Regions from separate parts of the Homo sapiens genome. Here all the other regions are linked to region 1. The links are contacts of gene promoters, found by promoter capture Hi-C in blood cells and fetal thymus (Javierre and others, 2016). All regions are on one chromosome and are shown on one strand. The core of a region is centred on a gene start or on the middle of the fragment in contact, and the rest is flanking DNA. Distances in the headings are between cores, read along the strand shown.

Region 1 (3,411 bases), core at 231-2,730:
ATTTTTAGTAGAGACAGGGTTTCACCGTGTTAGCCAGGATGGTCTCGATCTCCTGACCTCGTGATCCACCCGCCTCGGCCTCCCAAAGTGCTGGGATTACAGGCATAAGCCACCGCACCTGGCTGAATATATATTTTTTTATATATAGTATGATATATATGTACTCCATCAATACTCTTGCCCTAGACTCCACATATTTTAGGGCAAGCCTTTATACTAGAGAAGATAAATACAGTCAAAAGACAGTTGTTTAAAAAGACTAATAAAATTGATAAATCTTGATGAGAGTGTTCAAATAAAAAAGAAAGCTCAAATATCCATATTATGAATAAAAACAGGGGCATCACTATAGACCCAACAGACATTGATATCTCATGATATGTCATAATTATATCTCATAAGAGATATTCCGAATAACTTAAAACAAATAAATTTTAAAATTTGGATGAAATAGACAAATTTCTTGAAAAATAAAATTCACCAAAACTGCCAAAAGAAATAGCAAATCTAAACAGTATTATAATTTTAAAAAATTTAATATATAAACCTTCCCACAAAGAAATTCTTGGCCCAGATGCTTATAAGTAAACTTTACCCAAGATTTCATGAAGATATTTTGTCAGTCTTCCATAAACTTAGGTTTAATTAAGGTATTTTGTCAGTCTTACATAAACTTTCCATAAAACCAAAAGAGACGGCAAGCTTCAAAACTGATTTTATAAGACTGGTATTATCTTGATATCAAAACCTGACTAGTATATTTTAAGGAAGTAAAATTACAGACCAATCTTACTCAAGAACATAAATGAGAATTTCCTATACAAAGGAACGAATGAATGTGTACATTAATGAATGCATGGGTTTATTTCCTGGTTTTTCATAGACCTACAACAGAAATCCACTCAGCCTGACAAAGTAAGGATTTTAATACCAGTCTTGGCACATACCCTCAAGAACCCCTGGATGCTAAAATGGCTCAAAGAGCTAACAAAGTCTGGACAAACCAACATGCCTGGTTTAATTAGTCTGTAGGAAGTCCAGATATCGGTATTTCTTAAAAGCCTTCCAGAGTTCCGACAGAGATCACGGTGAGACTCTGAGCTCCGCGGCTAGCTCCCCTGGGGCCCTCCAAACCCTGGGCCAACGGGTGAGTTGGGGGAGCCCCAGGACAGACTGGGGCCTCCGCCCTGCAGATATCCCAGAGCCCTTGCTATGGCTCCCACCGGCCACACCCAGGCCTTGAAGGAGCATCGACCATATTCCTCAACCCACCTCGGTGACCTGATGGTGGCGGCAGCCTCTCCCAGCCGACCCCGCCGACCGCTGGATCTCCAGAGGACACCCCTGCCAAGCCACCCGGATGCAGAGCCTTTGAGTGGCAGCTGCCGTGGCCGGCCGGAAGCATGGCGGCGGCAGGGAGGCCCCTAGGGTGTGGCAGGGCGGGTCTACGGAGGCCTCTTTAGGCCACAGAGCAACGTAAAGCCTAGGCCTGCAGAGACTGCTCAGTCACAGTTGAAGGAGACCTACTGAGTCCTGAGGACAACCAACAAAGGCCTTAACGGCACAGAAGGTGAGCAAAGTCCTGGAGGAGGGTGAGCAGAAGGATCAGTGGCCATCGCGGGTTGGTGTTAGTTCTACCAGACCTCTATGTCGCAAGAGAAATGGTAGGATGACAGGCCACAGTTGGCCCGCTGGACATGCCCACCACCCTTTGGGAAGGTTTACTGGCCGTTTATAGAAAACCTGTGTGTATATAACATGAAAAAGTTGCTCTCAACTTCCCTCCAACCTTTTAAAAGAAAACATTTTCCACATCTAGGCTTTCTAGATGAGAAGAGGTTGCCGACGTATGACAGAGTTAGAAAATCACACATCTTGTAAATTCTCATTTGTTTAAAAAGAAATCATAGGCCGGGCGCGGTGGCTCATGCCTGTAATCCCAGCACTTTGGGAGGGCGAGGCGGGCGGATCACGAGGTCAGATCGAAACCAGCCTGACCAACGTGGTGAAACCCCGTCTCTACTAAAAATACAAAAATTAGCCGGGAGTGGTAGCGGGCATCTGTAATCCCACCTACTCGGGAGGCTGAGGCAGGAGAATCGCTTGAACCCAGGAGACAGAGGTAGAGGGTGCAAGTGAGCGGAGATTGCACCATTGCACTCCAGCCTGGGTGACAGAGCAAGAATCCGTCTCAAAAAAAAAATTATAAAAAATAAATGTCTTCTGGAGGTGACTTTGAAGTGGTTAGACCACCTCTGGAAGCGAAGCTTCCACGTTTGTTCAGTGAGTTAAAGGACATAGAAAACCTGAGAAGGAAGTTCTAGGCCAGTCTGGTCATATCTGAAGAGATTTTCATGTTCTAATCTAACCTTTGTTTTGTGTACATTTTATTAATGCTCACCACTGTACATAGAGTTGACTAACGTAAAACAATCCCTTCATAAATGTCCTTTTGTTTGTTTATAGGAAGTCCTGTCTTCTGGGATTGAGTTTGGTAATCCACCCCTTGGAGCTAAACACAGTAGTATCCTTAGTCGTTGGGATGGTGGGAGAGGGAGAAGAGGAAGGATGAAGGAAAGGGCTCTTTGCTAGTATCTCCATATCTAGAAGATGGTTTAAACTCATACCCATAGCTCTATATGAGCATTTTCAGTAAAGTGCCTGTGTTTGTTGTGGACAAGTTTTATTATTTTGCAACATCTGAGCTTTATGAAAGTCCTGGAGTGACAATGTATGATAAAAAGTAGAGCTAGTGAATTAGGCAATTTATTAATATTTTTTGTTATAACTGATAGAAAAGATGCATCTTGAACATGGAATTGTTAAGCCACGTCTGAGCAGTGTATGTCAGGACTTGTTCATTAGGTTGGCAGCAGAAGGGCAGAATGAAGTATAAAGGGAGAGATGTATGCAAATGTGTCTATGTTTACATTTTGATACTAGTCATTGATATATGTGCAACTCTTTTGGCTGTACTATAGGAATACAGTAAGTAATTTGAAGGAAACATACCTTCTTGCTAATATTTTAATGGTATAGATATGAGAAATTATCTTAGAAACATTATACATAGTGTATTCTGCTGCTTTATGTTTCATTTTAAATTGAGCATTAAGAAAACGCAGTATTTTAATCAGAACTCTGCTAATGCTTTTATGTAGAGGCATGTTGTCATTTGGGTCTTCTATGAAATTTTTGTCCTAAGAAAGGGAGGATTACATTTTTTCTAACAGATGAAGTTGCTGTAATGTGTTGCTGAGTATCAGAATACTCACATAGCTTTAAGATTTTGAATTGGTAAATATTCATGATGTGTGAAAAGGCATGATACATAACATATGATCTCAAGTCCATCAAGTTGGATGTTGTATCTACACAAACAGGACTTAGAAGGACATGTGAAACTAAATT
Region 2 (3,411 bases), core at 281-2,780, 450 kb before region 1:
AGCCTGTGTGGGGAGGAAAGGGCAGCCAGCCCTGGAGCAGAATTTGGATTGGATGGAATCTGAGGATATAGCAGGAATAGGCACACTCTGGGCCTTTCCACCCTACATGTGCTCGCTCACTCCAGCTGCTCAGTGGGACTCCTCAGACCCCCGAGTCCCTCCACACACAAAGGCTACCTCTCACCCACCCCAGCTCCACTCCCCCAGGGATGGAGTAGCTCTCCAGAGGGAGCTCATTTTGAAGGTGCACTAACCCAGACTCCGTTTTCTTCCCTGCTCTTGTCCTTCCCCAGCCCCTAAAGACAATGAAGAGCGTGTGTTCAGGGAACGCATGCGGCCGAGGAAGCGGCAGGGGGCCGTCAGGCGCAGGGTCCATCAGGTCAACGGCCACAAGTTCATGGCCACCTATCTTCGGCAGCCCACCTACTGCTCCCATTGCAGAGACTTCATCTGGTAAGCCTTTCTCTTGGGAACCTCTAATTACAACATCTCTGTTACAAGATGTCGGGGATGGGGTAGGGGAGACTATGCACCTCATTTAAAGAATGCTGGTGTGCCTCGTTTCTTCCTTATCTGAATGCAGGGGACTATTATGGAAGGCTAAGTGTGTGTTTGGTACATAGGGGGAAATACATGGAAAGAAGCGATGGTTTCTGGCAACTTTATACCTAGAATTTTATGAAAAGAGTTAAGATTTTAGTAACCAACAAGGATATTGTGACTGTGTGTGTGTGTGTGTGTGTGTGTGTGTGTGTGTGTGTGTGTGTGTGTCTTGTTTTGAGACAGAGTCTAGCTCTGTTGCCCAGGCTGGAGTGCAGTGGCATGATCTCCACTCAATGCAACCTCTGTCTCCCAGGTTCAAGTGATTCTCATGCCTCAGCCTCCCACATAGCTGGGATTACAGGAGCACACGACCACGCCTGGCTAATTTTTGTATTTTTAGTAGAGGTAGGGTTTCGCCATGTTGGCCAGGCTGATCTAGAACTCCTGGCCTCAAGTGATCCACCCACCTCTGCCCCCCAAAGTGCTGGGATTATAGATGTGAGCCATTGTACCCAGCTGATTGTGTGTTTTTAAAAAGAATACTTATCTTTTACAGACACACCTCAGGGTGAGGATTCCACTGAATAATAATCCACTGAAAAATAATTCACTGAATTATTTACAAGTGAAATTATCTGATGCCTAGGATTTGTTAGAAAATCAGGAAGGAGGCCAGGCACAAGTGCGGTGGCTGATGTCTATAATCCCAGCACTTTGGGAGGCCGAGGCACGCAGATTGCTTGAGGTCAGGAGTTTGAAACCAGCCTGGTCAACATGGTGAAACCCTGTGTCTACTAAAAATACAAAAATTAGCTGGCCATGGTGGTGTGCGCCTGTAATCCCAGCTACTTGGGAGGCTGAAACATGAGAATCACTTTAACCCTGGAGGTGGAGGCTGCAGTGAGCCGAGATCGCTATACTATACTCCAACCTGGGTGTGACAGAGTGAGACTCTGTCTTAAAAAAAAAAAAAAATCTGGAAGGAGGAGAGGGGCTGAGATAAAGATGATCGAAGGCCAGCCCCATTCCACTAACAATACCCAGGCTCAGAAATGAAAATGAGACTGGCCTGATGTCCTCTAGCTAGGAAGTGTCAGAAGTATGATTCTACCCCTAGTAGTCTGACTTTTAATGCTGATACTTTTCCTGACATCCCACCAGCCTTTCTAGCAAGCTGTCTGAGCTCTTTGAAGCTGATGTAGAGGTTGCCTTCATGAACCCTTGGATCCAACTGGGGAGAGCGAGTGAGGCCAGGATGCAGTATGAACCCAGCCAGGGACATCTGCACTGGGCTCTGAGGACCCCTTGGATTCCAGGTGTCCAGTAGTCACTTGTCTTATCCTCATGATGTCACAAAGCCAGTCATCCAGGTTGGCGTAGACATCTGAGATGATATAGCTCAGAGCAAGCCCAGCCCAACTGAGGCAGAAATAATGCCCCATTCCAGCCACAGATACTTCCAATTACCAGGGCAGACCCAGCTGTCTGACCTTCACTTGCTACATTTGGTCATGAACTGAGTGGTCGGTCTTACAGATCCAGGTCTCCTCTAAGTCCATGGGCAAAGGCCACTGAGCTCTAGGTTCCCTGGGGTGGAGCCTGAATAGCTTCTGGTTCCCACTGGGCTGGGAACTTCAGGGAGCTCCCTGACCATCTGTAGTTAGTACACTAAGGACAGGGGTAAGGCCGGGTTTGTGTGATAGTTCTGTGTCCATGCTGACTTTCTGTCTTGCCCTGGGAACACCACTCTGGCCATGGAAGGAACCTCTAATGTTGGCCTTCACCTAGACAACCTCTTGAACCTCTAGTTCGGGGCACAGACTGGCTTAGAACCATTGGTGGTCTTTGGACTGCCCAGGGAAATATACCTGCCAGCTGCAGCCCTCTTCCACAGTTAGAGGGCCCACAGAGCGTGTCCTGGTGCTGGGAGAAGAGGAATGTCCATTCTATCCACAAGGAAAGGTATGCTTCACTGCTCAATGCCTACCAGGAGCAAGCAGGGTCGTTTGTGGCTTTCCAGAACATTGCTGACCACACAGGAATGGCTCTCTGTATAGGAAATCAAGCTCTGATGCTGACCAAACCTTGCACCTCCCCAAGCACTGGGACTGCCCTCTGTGGGCTTCTGGAAGGAGACATTTAAGGCACCTTGCAAGTGAGAGAGAAATTACAATATTCTGCATACTTCATGTACTTGGTGCTATGTGGGTGGTGGCCCAAATTGGGTGGTTTTTCTGTTTGTTTTTTGACCTGGTAAGATTTCACTTTTTTTAAAAAAATGTTATTCTTCTTTTCAGGGGTGTCATAGGAAAGCAGGGATACCAGTGTCAAGGTAAGAGGCATTTATGAATTAAATCTTCAGAGGCCCGTGGTTAGATCCAGATCACTGGCACCCATAGGAGGCAGGTGCTCAGTCTGATGACATTTGGAGGCTCTCCACAGCTTGCATGCTTTCTTTGTTCCCACTTGACCATTACTTCTGCATATATGGGAATATATATGGGAGGCATTTGCAGGTGCCACCTGTCTCCAGGCGTCCTTGTGATCTCAGCAGGTCCCCAATCCACCCGGCCTTTGTGTCTCAACTGGAGCAGGTGGCACTTTCATCTTTCTGAATGAGACATTCTGCTTCAGTTGGAGGCTCTTTGAAAGTCCCACTTTGTCCTGAACTGGGTCTGTGTATTCTGCCAGATCCCTCCCTGTCTCCCTCCCTGAAGAAGCTTCCTCGCCTGCTCGTTGTACTTGGTATCACTGAAAGGTCCTTGTCTAATCCCTTTTTTTGGTCTTGGCTGTGTGATCATTAGCTCTTAAAAATGTAAAGCTCACTTGAAGGTATTGAAGATTATTCCTTTCCAGTTAATTGACTAC
Region 3 (3,411 bases), core at 377-2,876, 430 kb before region 1:
ATGAAGTTGTTGATAGATGTCAGTTATATTCAGTTGATTAATGTTGCTGTTGATTCAGTTGATTAATGTTGCTGTTGATTAATGTTGCTGTTGATTTGATTAATGTTTCTGCCTGCTAGATCTGTTTATTTTTGAATAAAGGGGTGCTGAAGTCTCCAATTATAATAGCAGCATCATCTGTTTCTCCTTGTAGTACCATCAGTTTTTGCCTCACTTACTTTGATGCTCTGGTTTTAGGTACATACACGTTAAAAATTACGTCTTTTTTGAGAATTGACCTTTTTATCCCTAATAACTTTCCTTGCTCTGAAGTCTGCTGGGTCTGAAATTAATTTAGCTTTTCTGCTTTTTTGGGTTTAGTGTTAGCATGGTATATCTTACTCTATGTCTTTACTTTTAATCTGTATGTGTCTTTAAGGTGGGTTTCTTGTGAACAACATATAGTTAGTTGGGTCTTGTTTTTTTTGATCCACTCTAACAATCTGTCTTTTAATTGGTATATTTAGACTATTGACATTTGAAGTCAATGATTATTGATTATTGACATACTTGGGTTAATATCTACTATAGTTAGTACTGTTTTCTATTTGTTGCCCTTATTCTTTGTTTCTATGTTTGTCTTCCACTCATTTTCTGCCTTTTGTGGTTTTAATTGAGCATTTAATATGTTCGTATTGTTTCTCTCCTTTCTTAGCGTATCATTTATACTTTCTTTTTTACTTATTTTAGTGCTTGCTGTGGAGTTTGCAGTATGCATTTACAACAAATCCAAATCTACTTTCAAATAATATTGTGCTGCTTCATGACAGTACAAGTACCTTATAATAACAAAATTATCCTAATTCCTCCCTGCCATCCTTGTCTCATTACTATCATTTATTTCACTTACACATAAGCATACCTAGCATATATGAAATACTATAATTACACATAATCAGCACATTACTAATATTATGATTTTGGGCAAACCATTAGCTGTTAAATTAATTAAGAATAAAAATAAAAGTTTTTATTTTACCTCCACTTATTTCTTCACCTTTCTTTACCTGCTCTCTTTTTCATGTAGATCCAAGTTTCTGAGCTGTATCATTTGTCTTCTCTCTGAAGAACTACTTTTAACATTTCTTACAAGGCAGATCACTGCCCATAAATTCCTTCCATTTTTGTTTGTCTGAGGAAGTTTTAATTTCTCCTTCACTTTTGAAGGATAATATTGCAGGGTAGAGAATTCTAGGGTGGTGGGGTTTTTATCTCAACATTTTGAATATTTAACTTCTTGATGGCATGGTTTCTGAGGAGAGGTTGGATGTAATTCTTATTTTTCCTCCTTTATAGGTAAAACTTTTTTTTTTCCTTTGACTTCTTTCAGCGTTTTTTAAATAGTTGATTTTCTGTAGTTTAGAAATTATATGCCTTGGTATAGTTTTTTGTTGGTTTGTTTGTTTGTTTCTTTTTGGCATTTATCCTGTGTGGTGTTCTTCAAGCTTCCTGGAGCTGTGGTTTGGTTTGGTGTCTGACATTAATTTTGGGAAATTCTCTGTCCTCATTGTATCAAATATTAATATTTTTTTCTGTTCCTTTCTCTTTCTTCTCGTAGTGGTAGTCTCTTTTTGCATATGTTACACTTTTTGTAGTTATCACCCAATCCTTGGATATTTTTTCCAGTCTTTGTTCTCTTTATTTTTTCATTTTTGAAGCTGCTATGGATATATCCTGAAGCTCAGAGATTGTTTCTTCAGCCATGTCTAGACTACTAATAAGCCCATCAGAAGCTTTCTTCATTTCTGTTAGTGTTTTTGATCTCTAGCAGTTCTTCTGATTCTTTCTTAGCATTTCCATCTCTCTGCTTATACTGCCCATTTGTTCTTACATGCTGTGTACATTATCCATTAGAACCCTTAGCATATTAATCATAGTTGTTTTAAATTCCCAGTCAGATAATTCCAGCATCCCTGCTATATCTGAGTCTAGTTCTGATGTTTGCCTTGTCACTTCAAACTGGTTTTTTGGGGTTTTTTTGTTTTTTTTTTTCTTTGCCTTTTAGGATGCCTTACAGTTTTTTCTTGCCAGACATTATATACCGGGTAAAAGGAACTGTCAGTAAACAGGCTGTTAGTAATGTGAGTAACGTGTGGAGGGAGGGAAAGAATTACATAGAGCTGTGATTAGGGTGTTTTCATGAATTTGTGCCTTTGAGCTGTGAACCTCACAAGTGCTGTTCAGTCCTCCCCTGGCCTTAGATAGGACAGGATGGCTAGAGTGGGCTGGAGTTGGGGATTTCCTTGTCCCCAGATCAGTCGGGGTCTGATAAAACCTCAATCTCTGATAAAAAAAAAAAACAACCCTCAACCTCTGATAAAATAGTTTCTCCTAAGAGAAGCCCTCGTTAAGAAGAGCAGAGTGCTCTGGGCTATTTTAAAAAATGGTTCTCTCCCCACGTTCCCCACCCCCAACCCCCACACTGAAATCCTGAGATTTTCTCCATATTTACTATGAGAATCTAGTTGAGCTCCTGAAGAGCACGACTCTCAACTGAATGTACAAAAGTCTATCAACTCAACGACTGGGTCCCCCTTAGAGTTTTTGACTCTCAGGCTTGTCTGCTCTGAGCCCATTTGTTGGTTACAGTTACAGTTTTTCTACCCCAGCATTGTTCCTACAGAGGTTTCTGCTTCAGTAAGTTGCGATTCTCTGTATTCGCCTGGTTGGCTGTCTAATTCTGGGAGCAGCAGTTTCAGTTTGCCCTAGGACTTCACTTCACTTGGTGGATCTCGGAAGAGCTGTTGATTTTGTAGTTTGTTCAGCGTTTTGCTTGTTAGAATGGAGTGCTGCTGACTTCTAAGCCCCTTAGGTGCCAGACTTCAATGAGCAGGTTGTTTTCACCTGTGATGTCTTACACCAAGGACAACTAAGTGAAGAGGGAAAAGCAAAGGAATTCATTGAATTCAGACTGGAGATCTGAAAGATTCCCAGTCCCTGGAGGGAAATATAAATGTGACATTTACTTACTTATCTATATTTAGGGTATACGTAGAAAGGATGGCTGGAATGAAGTACTAGAAACAGTGGTTATCTCTGCAAGGTGGTTTAATGAATGATTTTGGTTTTGTATGATGGAAGACATATATATATATATATATATTTCTGTATTTTCCAAATTATATCTTAAATGAACATGTAATACTTCATGAACATATAATACAATCTCAAAGAAAAGAAGCAACATCTTAGGCCATGAACACTTATCTGTCTTTTCTCCATGTCTCCTTACAGTCTGCAAAATGAATGTTCACCGTCGATGTGAGACCAACGTGGCTCCCAACTGTGGAGTGGATGCCAGAGGAATCGCCAAAGTACTGGCCGACCTGGGCGTTACCCCAGACAAAATCACCAACAGCGGCCAGAGAAGGA
Region 4 (3,411 bases), core at 350-2,849, 400 kb before region 1:
CTGTAAAAAAAAACAAATGTAGGTGTGATTGTTGACCTTGCAAAAGCTAACTCCTATTATAAAATGTTTACAAAAGAATTCACGAGAGAACTCCCGGGGTTGGCAAGATCCATTTGGATTGCCAGACGTGGTGACTGAGGTGCAGCAGTGCTAGGCAGAGTAACTGAACCCTGAAGTGTTAAAAAACAGCTGTGCAGGAGCAGTACCAGGGAACGTAAGACATCTGGAACACACACCCCCAGCCAGGGACGAAGTGTTCTGCTTCAGTATACATTAGACAACCAGTATTTTTTTTAGTACCTGGTACGGTATGTCTTCAACTTAATATCAGGTATTCCAGGGATAGAAAAAGACACAATCCTTGTTCAAAGAACTGCTGGTCCACCTAGGGAGGTTAGGCTAATAGGTGAACCAGAGAATGAAAATCAGAGGAAGAGATGAGTGGGCTGACTAGTAGGTATACTCCTACAAATTGGAGGAAACTGAGGCACAAGCGTTGAAGTGCCCCTTCCGGGTCACATACACGCTCATGTGCTCCCTCTCTCTCCCTTGCTCTCACTCTCTCCCTCTGTCACTCTCTCGCTGTCTCATAAGGGACTTTGTCACAGGAATAAGAACCCTGGGTTCCACCTACCCCACAGGAGCACAGTGGCAAGGTCCCATCTGATTCAAGGAAATTGGCTTTGTAGGGTTGTTATTGTGTGAAAAGGAGCAAGCCCTGTCCAAGGCAGATCTGGATGTTTGTGTAGTTCAGATCCATTTAGCTCCCTGGCCAGTGTTGATCTCTGCTGCTTTAAACCACATTAATCTCTGGGAGGGCAAACTGACCCATCACTATGGGAACCAGAGTGAGCCTGTGTCCTGGGTACTAGGTAAACACTGGAAGTCAGTACCTGGTAGACGCCATAGGCAGAAGCAAACTGGGGCCTTCCAAAAGCTGAAAATGATCAATAGATATGATTCTTGTGCATCCATATCCCAGGAAGGAGGGATTCTGTTTAGCTCTTTGAGCTAATTGTTAATTTTCAAATCTTGAAGACACTATTGAGCATGAAATGCAGATATTCAAATACCCCTTTCTCCTTGGTAGGAAATGGTACTAACAGTCTGCAGGATCATGGGAGTAAAAAGCGCAGTCTAAGCACATAGGCATTCATGGGGAGAGTATACGAAGTTAGAGGGTATAAAAGCTATGTGGATGGTTCAAAGATTAAGGTAAAGATGTGAAACCTAAAATCTCAATTCTCTAGAATGGGACATTTAGACTTCATGGGTAGAGGAGGACAAGAATCGGGAGTATGGGCAGTTAGACAAAATCAGAAAGAAGCGTAGAAGACTATGCAGAAACATTAAGAATGTAGTGGTGGAAATGTTACCTTTTTGGAAGATGGTATCATGCAGAAGGTTTGAATGCATTTCTCTGATCTTTAATTCTACCAAAAGTGTCACTCTGATGTAAGAAAATATTTAGGTTGAAAAGGTGAGGAACTGGCCACAGCTTTCCTAAATGTGGTTGACAACCTGTATCCAAGAGAACAGAATGAATTGGTCGATTTGCTGTGTCATGACATTTTAGGGATGTTTTTGGGATGTTTAAGGGATGTTTTTGAAGGGGATTTATAAGAGAGTAAATGAGACCCCTTAAACACAGAGATCTGAGGCATAAGAGCTGGTAATTTTAAAAGATACACAGCTGACTACAGAAGGAAAGAAGCAAGTCCCAGAATAGACATGTAGCATATTTCCATTTCTATAAAACCCCCAAACAGGCGAGACTAAACAATATTCTTAGGAGGAAACACATGGGTGATGAAACTGTAAAGAAAAGCAAGGGGCCGGGTGTGGTGGTTCATGTCTGTAGTCCCAACATTGGGAGGCCAAGGCAGGAGGATTGCTTGAGCCCTGGGAACATAGTGAGACCCTGTCTCTACAAAAAATTGTTTTAAATTAGCCTGGCACGGTGATGTGTGCCTGTTGTCCCAGCTACTCTGGAGGCTAAGGTGGGAGGATCGCTTGAGCCTAGGAAGTCAAGGCTGCAGTGAGCCATAATCATGCCACTGTACTCCAGCCTGAGCAACAGAGCAAGACCCTGTCTCAAAAATAAATAAAAGAATTAGCCAGGGATGGTGGCACACACCTGTAGTCCCAGCTATTCGGGAGGCTGAGGTAGGAGGGTAGGTTGAGCCCAGGAGGTTGAGGCTGCAGTGAAGCATGATTGTACCACTTGTACTTCATCCTGGGCATCAGAGTGAGACCCTATCTCAAAAAAGAAAGAAAAAGAAAAGAAAAACAAGATCATGATTACCAGGGAAGTCCAAATAGGGACTGAATGAGGATGGGGAGAGAGGTTGCAATTAAAGAGAGTTAAAGGGGTTTCAAAGGCCAGCAACCATGTTCTATCTGTCAAGGTGGGTCACAGCTAAAAGTGAGTCTTATTTGATCTTTAAAATGCATATGCATATTTTACATATTCTCATTCGTAGGTATATTTTACAATAAGGCAGGGAAGGGGAACAAGAACATGAAAGCATCCAAACTGTCATAGGCACTAGCATTTTAAATGATGACATGCTCTCCAAAAATTCGAACTTTAACAAAAAACTGAGCTTGTGCACTACCTCTGTGTATCATTCTTTTGCCACTAAAGTTTCGATTTTCCTGTTCTTTTGGCAGTATGATCTGTCTCAAGGACAAGAAGTGTGGTGACTGGTCCCATGGCCTATTTAGCTGGAAGAATGAAGCGTAGTCCCTATCCTCTTTCCAAGACCAAGGCCAAGATGGGGCTCAAGACCAGGGGGTTATCTACAGAACTGCTGGCCCACCTTCCACCTACCCTGGGGGACCTCCCTCTTGAAGGTTGGGATTCTTTTTTTTCTTTTTTTTTTTTGAGATGGAGTCGGGCTCTGTGGCCCAGACTGGAGTGCAGTGGCAAGATCTTAGCTCACTGCAGCCTCCGCCTCCCGGGTTCACGTGATTCTCCTGCCTCAGCCTCCCGAGTAGCTGGGATTACAGGCTCCCACCACTGCACCCGGCTGACTTTTGTGTTTTTAGTAGAGACGGGGTTTTGCCATGCTGGCCAGGCCGGTCTCAAACTCTTGACCTCAAGTGATCCGCCCGTCTCAGCCTCCCAAAGTGCTGGAATTACAGGCGTGAGCCACCGCGTCCGGCCGAAGGTTGGGATTCTTAAAGAGTAACCTAGCCCAGCCTCACTCTTTCAGCAAGCAGCTCTGAGTTGGGGGGTAAACTTTCTTCACTGCCACAACATTTGTGTTTTGCAACATGTTTTTAAACCATGTTTTATAACTAAGAAGATGCCAAACATTTCATTTGGCAGTTTGTATTATGAAAACCATAGTTATCTTTCCATTTTCACCTATAAAGTGATGTTATAAATTGAACCTTTTAAACTGT
Region 5 (3,411 bases), core at 419-2,918, 380 kb before region 1:
AAGAACTTAGAGCACTTTAATAGCCAGGGTTCCCTTGGATGGGATTCAAGACGGACTTCACATTCTCTGTTTATTTCCAGTGTAGTCATTGAGTGATCATTGGTAGGACAGCCCTATTTCCACTTTCATCTACCAGTTCACAGGCAGCTCTTAAAATCTCATCATGCACAGGAGGACACTGGGCTTTCCTCAACTTAGTGGGGAAGGCCATGATCAGCCTGCTCTCTGTCCCTTCTCCTGAAGTGAATTCTTTTTAGGTCAGGAGAGGTGTATCTGATATTCGAGAAATGATTGAGGCAGGAATCCAATGGCATCTTGTTCCTGGAGACCCAGCCTTCCTGGCCATTTTTATCCCTACTTAGAGAAGTTTTGAGGCACAGGATTAAGAGCAGGCTGGGCCAGGTGAGTCAAAGGCTTTCATTGAACTGCCCTCCTTGTCTGATACCTCCTTGCTAAACTCATTAGAAAAAGAGTACAGGAAATCTCATCTCCAGTTGGCCAAGGGAACCCGAGGAACTTGAATGGACAAGATCCCGTTAAGGGCTGATAAACACAACTGATGCCTGGTGATGAAAGTCTTCTTTTATACAGCAATGAAGACAGGTGGCTGGAACAAGAGACAGAAAAAACACATCGTGGAAGACATTGTTCTGGGAGGTGATTGTACCCTCTGCCCTCCCAGCAGGCTGTGAGCTCGCAGTGCTGTGTGGTCAGTGGAAGGAGGCCTTTACTTGGCACATCCTGTGTAACTTGAGGAGTTGGAGATCACGGTAAAACTCAAACCTATTAGTTACATGTTAGGTATTGAATGTTTGAAAAGCTGCATTTCAAAACACTGAATTTGATCAGGACACACTCTGGACAATGTCATTTGTTGAAAGCTTCAAATCAAAGTGGTTCCCATTTCCCCTCCCCTTATTTACTTAACTCATTTATTTTTTAGTAAGAATGCTACATAACTCAAAAGTGAATACTTGGAAAAAAGATTTTTTCAATAGGGAGGATATCTTGGCTTAAAATAAATACCATCAAAGCATTTCCACTGCTTACTAACCTTTGACTTGCATACAGGAAGTTTTCTGTCAAGTACCAGAAAATCCTGGAAAATTGAATTTGGTTTTAAAATGCAATTCTCCCTTGGCTTTAGAAGGACCAGCTGGGTAGCTCATTAAATGTAAAAAGTACTTTGAAAATTGGAAGACTAACTCACATATTAATTATCATCAATAGTTATCAAACCAGTGTATTTTAATTTAACTCACCTACTTCTAAACAGCGTGTCAAGGACTCCACAAATGAGCCTGCCTGCCACCCCTCCCACCCCCTGCCCCTTCCATAGTAAGGTTTAGTGACTTGCTTATGGGCACTTAGGGGAAAAGGAGAACTAAGTTCTGTTTTCTGTTCTTTCTCTGACTAGCCATAGGACCTTAGGGCAGGTACATGATCTCTTTGAGCCTTATTTTCCTTATCTGTGACATGGAGACAGTACTCCCTCCCAGCTTCATTCTCAGAACTGTCCTGAGGCTTCAGCTACAGCCTATTGAAAAGTCTCAAGGGTATTAACAAAATGGAAATGTCCTATCTTCATGTTCTTTTGTATTCCAGCCCCCATCAATTTCCCATGTCCAGAGATTCTTTACAGCCAACAGGGATCCATATGGGGTTCACTGGGCTCAATGTCCCACCAGAGCCCCTCTGCCAGTGCCTCCTACCGAGCAGATGACTTTCTAAGCAAGGTGCTCGGGTCTTGTCACCGAGGGGTGGACGTGCCCAGTGTCGGGGTCTGTCCAGTGGTCCTTGATTCCCCTTTGTCCACGCACTTGGCCTTTCTCCAGGGGGAGACGGATGATAGCTGGAAGTGATCTACTCTGCTTATGGGTTCTGGCCAGTTCTCTCTCTGTTTAGGGGTGAACCAGTGTCTGACAGGTGAACTTTTCCTTAGGGTAGGAAATACATTGGCCTTTAAATGCAAAAGGACACCAGGTCATTGAGCTCAGAACCTTCACCAGCTCTGGAAATATTGTTCCTCTTGCAGGACTCAACTCAGTGTGACTCTTGCCCTCCTCCTTTCTCCTTCCCAGACAGAATGCACTCTGCACTTTCCTATAGCTCTGTATGGGGCACCAGTCATGTGTTGTAATAGTTGGCCTGGAGTGTAGAGACTCGCCAGTAATGCCTCCATCTGACCTACACAGGAGGAACTCCAAAAAACTTTTATAAGCAATTTAGTTAGGCTCTTCTCTGTAGTCTAGAGTCCCAGGGCCTTCCTTGGAGTCCCGTGATGTCTCTTACCTTCATAGTCAGAATTGAAAGGCAGGAAGGAGATACAAGGTCTGTCTTTCCCCTTCTTGACTGAGCTTGGGGCAAGATTGTCCGGGCCCATTTTTCCTAGACGTTTCCTTAGCGCAACCCTCATCCTATTTGATGGTTTCCAGGGACCTCAGGGTTTCTGCTTAGAAGCTTCCCACCTGTCAGTATTGCCGAGTGGGCTTACAGCCTGATAGAAGCCCCCACCTCACTGGATTAGTGCTGCCCTGGTTTCTTCCCAGTCCTGACAATGCACATAGCCCAGCTCTCTCTCATGCCCACAGATACTTTAAGCTTCTATTGACTTAAAGTGGCCTGAGATAGGGCAACAGGAGATGGGACAACCTATCCCAGTTGGTGCAAAGCCCTTTACACGCACATCTTGCAATTAACTGTGAGCCTAGACTGGAGTCCAGCCCTTGGGCAGCCAAGGTAGTTTCTGCCTGATTGTTCCTAAGCAGACTCTGGTCAAGGGGGAAGCAGCTGCAGGTGTAATACCCGCTGCAGGAAATACCTTCTAGTATCCTTGTAGCTGTGGGAAAATATTCTCACTTGAATTCATGAAGGTCACCAGAGGGGCTTCCCTCTGCTTTCCACTCTGCATTCTCGTAAATCCCACCTCTTCTAGAAAGCCTGCCTCAGTTTCCCATCATGCGTTTCCTTCTGCCCAGTTCCTTGTGTTACACATCAGTTTAGCTCTTTCTGATACACCATTTTGTGTTCTGCAGTTGATTTCATGTAATTTACATTTTCCCATCTTGACTAAGACCCTGAGGCAAACCCGAGGCAGGTCCTTCTGTCCATCAAATCCAACACAGTACTGGTCCTGGTGAGTCCTCTGAGAGGTACCCCCAGCATGGTCACCATGGCCAGTGTAGAAGGCTGGGGGTAAAAGCTGGGCCCACCGACTGATGGGGAAACCTAAAGTTCTTGCAGAATTGGAGGCTTGGCACTCCCTCCACTGGCTCCCATTGCCCGCCCTGCTGCCTGGTCCCCAGGGGTAGGGTGGCTTAGCTGGGCTCATGGCCTGTGATGCACATTCCCAGATCTCTGAAGTCATTTCCCTGAAATCACATTTACCGTTCACAAGAAAAAGGCCAAAGC
Region 6 (3,411 bases), core at 585-3,084, 360 kb before region 1:
TTATGTTCCGTTGATCCAGGGCCAGAAAGAGGAGACAAAGGACCTAAAATGCTTTAGGCTTAGATAGCTAGGTGATATTCTAGGAGGAGAAAATTTGGAACTGCTTCAGTTTCCAGCATTGTGTTATACTTTTATGTGTAAGAGCCTGAAGTTGAACAGAAAAAAAAAAAAAAAGTCGGGGCGGAGCTGTCTTTTCTTTTAAAAATAGACGCATGGAAGCATGTGTTTGTTTGTTCCTACTTGGTGTTTTTGTTTTATTTATAAAATGAAAACAGCTGAAATAATTTCTGGATTGTTCTGAACTTTTGAGCACAGACTCCCAGATGGTTTCTGTGGTCTGGGCCCTCAAAAACCCACCTGATGGGGGATGGCGCCCATCTTTGGAAAAAGCTATTTGAGGCTCTGTGAAGCAGCTCGAGTTTGTTTGTTTTCCCTTGTATTTGAAAATGGAAGTCAAGCATGCTCCCAGGGCAGAGAATTCCGCAACTGTGACCATCTTGCAAGGGGCAGGAAAAGATTTACAGTGTTTTGCTAGACCAATCGCCACTTCCTTCTGGGGTAAAAATCCTTACCAGCAACTCCTTACCAGCGACTCCTCTTCTGGCTAAATTGGAGTAGCATTTTCCTATCAAAGTCATTTAAGATACAGATTATTCAATAACCTGAGAGAAGGGTGGAGTATTCATTTCTAATGACTTCACAGAATTCCAGTCCTCTCTGAGCCCGAAGAGTTGTTGACTATCATCAGGTGTTAGGCCTCACATCTTTCATTTGCTAACAGTATTTTACTGTCTATGAAAATGGTTAACTGGTCGGGCACAGTGGCTCACACCTGTAATCCCAGCACTTTGGGAGGCCGAGGTGGGCGGATCACTTGAGGTCAGGAGTTCAAGACCAGCCTGGCCAACATGGTGAAACCCTGTATCTACTAAAAATACAAAAATTAGCCAGGCATGGTGACACGTGCCTGTAATCCCAGCTACTCAGGAGGCTGAGGCAGGAGAATCGCTTGAACCTGGGAGGTGGAGGTTGAAGTGAGCCAAGATCATACCACTGCATTCCACCTGGGTGACAGAGTGAGACTCTGTCTCAAAAAAAAAAAAAAAAAAAAAAGAAAAAGAAAATTGTTAACTGCCCTTAAAAATATAGTCGTTCTCCTTCGACACTCAAAAGTTCTCTATTTGCAAATGAAGTTCATATGAATTTGTTAATGATTCACTTCTCAGTAATTGGCAATCCCAAATTAATCAGATTTCCTTGCACTAATGGTTTCTTTAATAAATGATATTAGATGGTAATAGAAAGGACAGTCTTGGCAATAACTGCTTAAATCATAGCATGAGGGATTTAGATTTTCATCAGCAGCTTGCACCAGAAGCAGAGTCTGACTGAATATTATCTCCTTTGTAGATTAGATAGAAGAAGAATTAGGGAGATACAAAGAAGCATTTTCTAAGCATAGTTAGACTCTGATTTTGGTGACAGTACGAACTAGGGAAGTTGGAAAATGCCTCATTGGCCTAAAACTGGTAACATATAATAAACTAGGACTGGAGGCAAAATTACAGAAGTTTTTTTGGTAATTCTCTTGGGCTCTTTCTGGGGGATTCTTAGTCTTATAGAATTTTGCTACTTGATGCTCATCCATGGCCTGTGGAATGTATCGTCCTTTCATGTGGGTGTGGGGAGAAAAGGACTGGGGCAGTGGGAAAGGGGAGGCCCCATTGTTGCCAACACCAAGCCCAAGCTTTCTGTAGATGTGGCTCCCCATTTTCAACTAGAAGAAGAGAAATTTTTCATGTTCTAGCTTGAGAAGCCATGCTCTTAAGTTATTTGACCCTGTACATCCTCGACCCTTCAAAATATTTAAATTATTCCACACTTCAGCGCTGGCATCACAGATTATACGATAATAATTTACCAAGCTTCTTTTCTGCAAACAGGTAAAGGAGGAGGAGACATGGGTGGTAATGTAATTTCTGGATAGTTTAAACCTAAAAGCCTGCTATTAAGAGAAAAGGGGAAAATGACTGTTCAAGACCTGTATCTTGAAAGAATGCTGTTTATCTAGTATTCAGGGGCCAGGGAGTGTGTCTGTGGGTAAACTAAGCAATTCCTCCAAGAATTCTGACGGGAAACAGTTTTGGGGTTTGTCATAGTTTCTAATATTCTCTTAAAATAATCTGTTTCCCAACAAGTAAAAGCAGACGTCATTTCACGTAAAGAATTTCTCTGACTCCACCAGTAGCCCTTCCATCTTCTCATTTGTCCGGTTAAGCTTGAGTCAGAAAAAGAACACAACAATTTTGGTAAAAAATTTGTTGTTCTTCTCATCTGAATAGCCAAAAGTTATTGGTGTGTAAGGACCACAGTTCAGATAAGAGCTACTGTAACTAAATTTAGAGAAATTACTTTTCAGATCGACTTTCCTGTTCTAAAATTACATACTTCTGGTTGGTCTTTGCTTTATCTTCCTAATCAAGATCTGAGGTCACTGGAGGTCAGAAACATATGGCAAAAAGGAATTTAAATATTTTCCAATTAAAAAATTATCCTAAAATATCTTTATTATATTTCCAAGCCATAAATGATCACAGGTGCTTTGAGCCATGGTACTGATCCCAGGAAAGTGTTTGCAAACGTTTAAAAAATAGAATGGATCAGTTGATTCATGCTTTAGCTGATGGCACGGTCTCTTGGGAAGCTAACCCACTCTTGCCTCTTGCCCATGGGGCCAGGGGAACACTGCTGTTTAATTTGTCTTAAATACCTCTTCTGAGACTGTATTGGTCCCCGACCACCCATTTGCAAAGATCCAGCATCCGTCAAGACTATTTAACAGACGTTCCAAAAAGCTGGATGCTGACAGTCCAACTGTCATTTTAACCTTGGCATCTCCCATGACAGAGTGTGGAGCAGCAGGCTGTGACCTAGAGGAAAGACACAGAAGTGGTGAGGGGTTGCAGGGGCTGTAGCGTGGTGAGATGGCCCTGTACAATATCAGGTGAAGGGGAAGCATTTATAAACTTCCTTTGTTTTGATGTATCTGTTTTTCCCCCTATTTCTGCCTATACACCTACTTGAGCACTGGCTTGGCTAAAGTTACCCCCAAGAAAATGTTGAAGTAATGAGTCACCTACCTCACTTCATTTTTTTGAGACCTCACTTTCTTTCCTTCCTTTCTTTCCCTCCGAATTTATGAATGAAAATAGATAGGTAGAGGTTGAATTGGCTAAGGCTGTCTGTTGCTTTTTGATTTTCCCATCTCCAGGGGAAGAGGGCAGGGAACGATCCACTCCAATTAGGAATCCTAGACTTATATTCATTTAACAACTTTATATTATCCAGAACATTTTGTACAAATACATTGTAGAAATAAGTTATTTCTAGTGCTTGGGGCATAGTCTGTGA
Region 7 (3,411 bases), core at 344-2,843, 280 kb before region 1:
AAGGAATTTTTACCCAGAACCCCAAAGTGTAAAACAGGCCCCAAGGGAGCTGCACTGTTTGAGACTGGCATGCCCCTATGGCTCTTGCTTGCTGCACAGAACCACGTGGGCTCTGTGGGTCCAGGTGATTATAAGCAATGTGCCTTCCTTGCTGCCTCCAGACCTTTCCCCCACCCAGCCTGCTTGCCCCTAGGAAAGTGATCTTACAAATGCATTGTGCTCATGCAGGCAGGATGCTTATTGCTGTTAGCATGCATTTCAAATTCTTTTTCCTAGCATTCCAGGCTCTTTGAGCAAAACATTCCTGTCTTGCTTCACCATTCACTAGGGCCCAATTCTCTGGCCTCCTCACTACCTTTTGCATCAGCTATATTGGCCTTCTCCTCTCTCCCATCTTCTCTCCTCACAGTGTATCGAACCCTTATCTTCTAACCATGTTTCTCTTGAGGGGCGCTGTTTCCTGGAAGCCCTCACTGCCTGCACTAGCTGTTTGTGGTCTCCCGCTCTGATGCACATTAGCTCTCATAGTGTTCTATAAAGTAGTGCCTGACTCTTAGGTGGTTTTAACCGTTTCGTTGATGTCCCTATGTGTCATGCTGGGAACCCCAGCTGATCCCCATGGTTAGTTCATGAGGGACAGGGGTAGATGCTTCTTTCTTTCATAGCAGGATCTCATTAATATGAATGTGGGTGCATAGCAGGGCTTCTATATATACCTACTGACTTAGCTCTATTAAACCACAGCAGTCTTGATATATTCCTGGGGTTACAGAAGTTCCTCCCTCTTGCTGAAGAAAGTGGAGGTGCCGTTAGGGGCTGACTAACATGAGAGAGAGCCCCTGGACTGAGATGGGTTTCAAGAAACACAAGCTTCTTTCAGGACTTTTTTGCTGGAGATTTCCCTAAGATAGGCACATACCTCCAACTCAGGAAGACTATATTGGGGTGAGTGACGTATTGACATTATGGTCCTGGCCTATCTTGCAGGGATTTGAAACTGGACAACATCCTTCTGGATGCAGAAGGTCACTGCAAGCTGGCTGACTTCGGGATGTGCAAGGAAGGGATTCTGAATGGTGTGACGACCACCACGTTCTGTGGGACTCCTGACTACATAGCTCCTGAGGTAAGACCTGTGTGCAAAGGTTCACCTCCTCCTGGTGCCAGGACCGAGGCAGGGGTCCAAACCCATGCACTGGGGTCATCTAGTGGTGCTGGGGGAAGGCTCTGGAAATCCAGGATGGATTCTAGGAAGGAGGGAGAAAAGGAAAGGAAAAAAGTTTGCTGATTGATGTCTGTCAAGAAGTCCTAGTGTTGGGGAGATGATGAGTGAAATGAGAGTAACAGGCTATTTCCCAAACCCGGGCAAGTTCACACTGAACATCTCTTTCCCATCCTAGTCCAGAACCACCAATAAATCTAGGACCAAGAAAAACGTGTTGACTTTTATTATTGTTTTCATGTCTTTAAAATCAGAACAGGGTGGGCACAGTGACTCACATCTGTAATCCCAGCACTTTGGGAGGCCAAGGCAGGTAGATCGCTTGAGCCCAGGAGTTCAAGACCAGCCGGGGCAACATGGTGAAACCCTGTCTATATAAAAAATACAAAAATTAGCCAGGCATAGTGGTGCAAACCTGTAGTCCCAGCTACTTGGGAGGCTGAGGTGAAAGGATCAATTGAGCCCAGAAGGTTGAGGCTATAGTGAGCCATAATTGCACCATTGCACTCCAGCCTGGGTGACAGAGCAAGACCCTGTCTCAATAAAAAAAAAAGTAAAAAATAAAATCAGAATAAAGGAGCATCATTGATCATGGGAGCACTTCACTTTATCAGCTACAATTTGCTAACAGTAAAACTAGGAACTGTTTGCTATTTCCTGCATAGTGGCAGTTCTATGCTGTGAGTACACAGGATGGAGCAGGAAGAGGAGAGTGACTGTGCCTCATTATATACAGATATCAGAGATGTTCACTGTGAACCACTCCAATAGGTTGCCTTTCCTGAAAGTTGTTTGGGATGTTTTGCTCAGCATGAAGTGTTTGTTTGCCTTATTCCTGCCCAAACTGAGAGATAACTAGTGTGATGTGATTCAGATTTAAGACATGGCCTGTCATAGACAATCAAAATGATCTTCATGGTTCTGAGACATGTAAGATAGGAAAGAAGTACCAATCCCCACTAAACATCGCCCATGGCGGATAGGTATTAGCACATTCAGAGCTCATTTCTTTCAGTGGGCATTGTTTGAGCACGTGCTAGGCACAAAGCAATGTGGAGATAAAGAACTGACTGAGACACTTGTCCCTATTCTAAAGAAGCTTTTGGTCTAAAGGGAGTGATAGATAAGTAAACAACTAATTAAGCAGAATAAATAGGCACATAAAAGAAGATGGTATCCTCAGGGATCAGGAAAGGCTTCTTGGAGCACCTGGTGGATGAATTGAGTTGTAAAGAATGAGGATTTCCTTTGACGGAAGGGGTGGGGAGGGTATTCCTGAAAACAACAGGATTGGAACGGGGGCAGGACAGGAAAGGAGGTTCAGTGTCCCTGGGCCCTGGATCCTTTGAGGGCAGGGTCTGTGTTTCTAATCTGGGTACTGCCAGGATCCGGCACACAAATCAGGATCTTAGAAAGGTTTGTTAAAAAATGACAACTTATGACATTCCAACATGAGCAAAGGCCAAGGGACAAAAACATCTTGGTCTTTTCCAGGACAGTTAAAAAGTGTAGCTAGATCATAGGGTTTCCTGGTGCTCATAGTAATGAATGAGATTGGGATAAAGACCCAGTGAATGTGGCTTTGATCCTGTAGGATCTGTGGACCCACTCAGGGTTTCAGTGGAGGAGAGTCCTAGTCAGATCCATCCCAGGAAGAAGGAAGGCCACAGCTGTGCAGATCAGAAGGCAGGGAGTGAGGGACTGATGGTCAGGAGGCTTCACAGACCACACAAGACAGGGGAGGCCTGAGGAACATCTCGAAGTGAAGGTGATGAGTAATAGGTAGTTTCCCTTTAGAACCTTTATCTTCTAAGAGATCTAAAGAGTAGGGATTTCAGTCTTTCTGCAAATGTATTTCCTTAGCAAGAACACTAGGAATTCAGCCTTCAAGGAGCAACAAATGAAAGCAAGAGCTTTCGACAGGGAACTGCTTTTCTCGTGTTCTTCGTTCATTCTTCATTGTCAGAATACTTAGTTCCAGTTCCTCTCTAAGTTGATGCCATCATTCATTCTTCATTGTCAGAATACTCAGTTCCAGTTCCTCTGTAAGTTGATGCCAGAGCCTAACAGTTGACAGCCCATGTTATAGTTAAGGACCCAACCCAAGACAGAACATTCACTTTATAATGAACAAAATAGCCACTCAGCTTTCATGAAAAGCAGTCCATTGGTGAGACTCACAATGAACA

The links. Contacts are between HindIII fragments. The CHiCAGO score rates a contact against its expected background, and 5 or more counts as called.
Region 2: a fragment that was not itself captured here is called in contact with the fragment with the promoter of LINC02583 in region 1 in 1 of 17 cell types (endothelial precursors); the score reaches 6.6 in endothelial precursors.
Region 3: a fragment that was not itself captured here is called in contact with the fragment with the promoter of LINC02583 in region 1 in 11 of 17 cell types (endothelial precursors, M2 macrophages, M1 macrophages and 8 more); the score reaches 9.6 in endothelial precursors.
Region 4: a contact is called between a fragment that was not itself captured here and the fragment with the promoter of LINC02583 in region 1, in 6 of 17 cell types (M0 macrophages, M1 macrophages, M2 macrophages and 3 more). The highest score is 8.9, in M0 macrophages.
Region 5: a contact is called between a fragment that was not itself captured here and the fragment with the promoter of LINC02583 in region 1, in 8 of 17 cell types (M2 macrophages, M0 macrophages, M1 macrophages and 5 more). The highest score is 10.3, in M2 macrophages.
Region 6: a contact is called between a fragment that was not itself captured here and the fragment with the promoter of LINC02583 in region 1, in 10 of 17 cell types (non-activated CD4 T cells, naive CD8 T cells, fetal thymus and 7 more). The highest score is 8.3, in non-activated CD4 T cells.
Region 7: a fragment that was not itself captured here is called in contact with the fragment with the promoter of LINC02583 in region 1 in 1 of 17 cell types (M1 macrophages); the score reaches 5.2 in M1 macrophages.

What each region holds. Positions count from the first base shown.
Region 1 is chr2:46,427,710-46,431,120 of GRCh38, forward strand. It overlaps LINC02583 (long intergenic non-protein coding RNA 2583), which reads left to right and starts at 1,481. Exons shown (of 4, transcript NR_103805.1): 1 at 1,481-1,570. The HindIII fragment of the contact is 1,565 bases long and covers 701-2,265 here.
Region 2 is chr2:45,976,136-45,979,546 of GRCh38, forward strand. PRKCE (protein kinase C epsilon) reads left to right here. Exons shown (of 15, transcript NM_005400.3): 3 at 294-453; 4 at 2,841-2,875. Among named protein-coding and RNA genes, the nearest start is that of PRKCE-AS1, 300 kb to the left of the region's middle. The HindIII fragment of the contact is 3,462 bases long and covers 1-3,261 here.
Region 3 is chr2:45,998,131-46,001,541 of GRCh38, forward strand. PRKCE (protein kinase C epsilon) reads left to right here. Exons shown (of 15, transcript NM_005400.3): 7 at 3,274-3,411. Among named protein-coding and RNA genes, the nearest start is that of EPAS1, 300 kb to the right of the region's middle. The HindIII fragment of the contact is 288 bases long and covers 1,483-1,770 here.
Region 4 is chr2:46,025,073-46,028,483 of GRCh38, forward strand. The region is part of intron 10 of PRKCE (protein kinase C epsilon); the gene reads left to right. Among named protein-coding and RNA genes, the nearest start is that of EPAS1, 270 kb to the right of the region's middle. The HindIII fragment of the contact is 4,201 bases long and covers 1-3,411 here.
Region 5 is chr2:46,046,794-46,050,204 of GRCh38, forward strand. The region is part of intron 10 of PRKCE (protein kinase C epsilon); the gene reads left to right. Among named protein-coding and RNA genes, the nearest start is that of EPAS1, 250 kb to the right of the region's middle. The HindIII fragment of the contact is 1,579 bases long and covers 880-2,458 here.
Region 6 is chr2:46,063,190-46,066,600 of GRCh38, forward strand. All of the region lies in intron 10 of PRKCE (protein kinase C epsilon), which reads left to right. Among named protein-coding and RNA genes, the nearest start is that of EPAS1, 230 kb to the right of the region's middle. The HindIII fragment of the contact is 178 bases long and covers 1,746-1,923 here.
Region 7 is chr2:46,144,106-46,147,516 of GRCh38, forward strand. PRKCE (protein kinase C epsilon) reads left to right here. Exons shown (of 15, transcript NM_005400.3): 12 at 988-1,126. Among named protein-coding and RNA genes, the nearest start is that of EPAS1, 150 kb to the right of the region's middle. RefSeq lists an enhancer at 1-316. The HindIII fragment of the contact is 1,451 bases long and covers 869-2,319 here.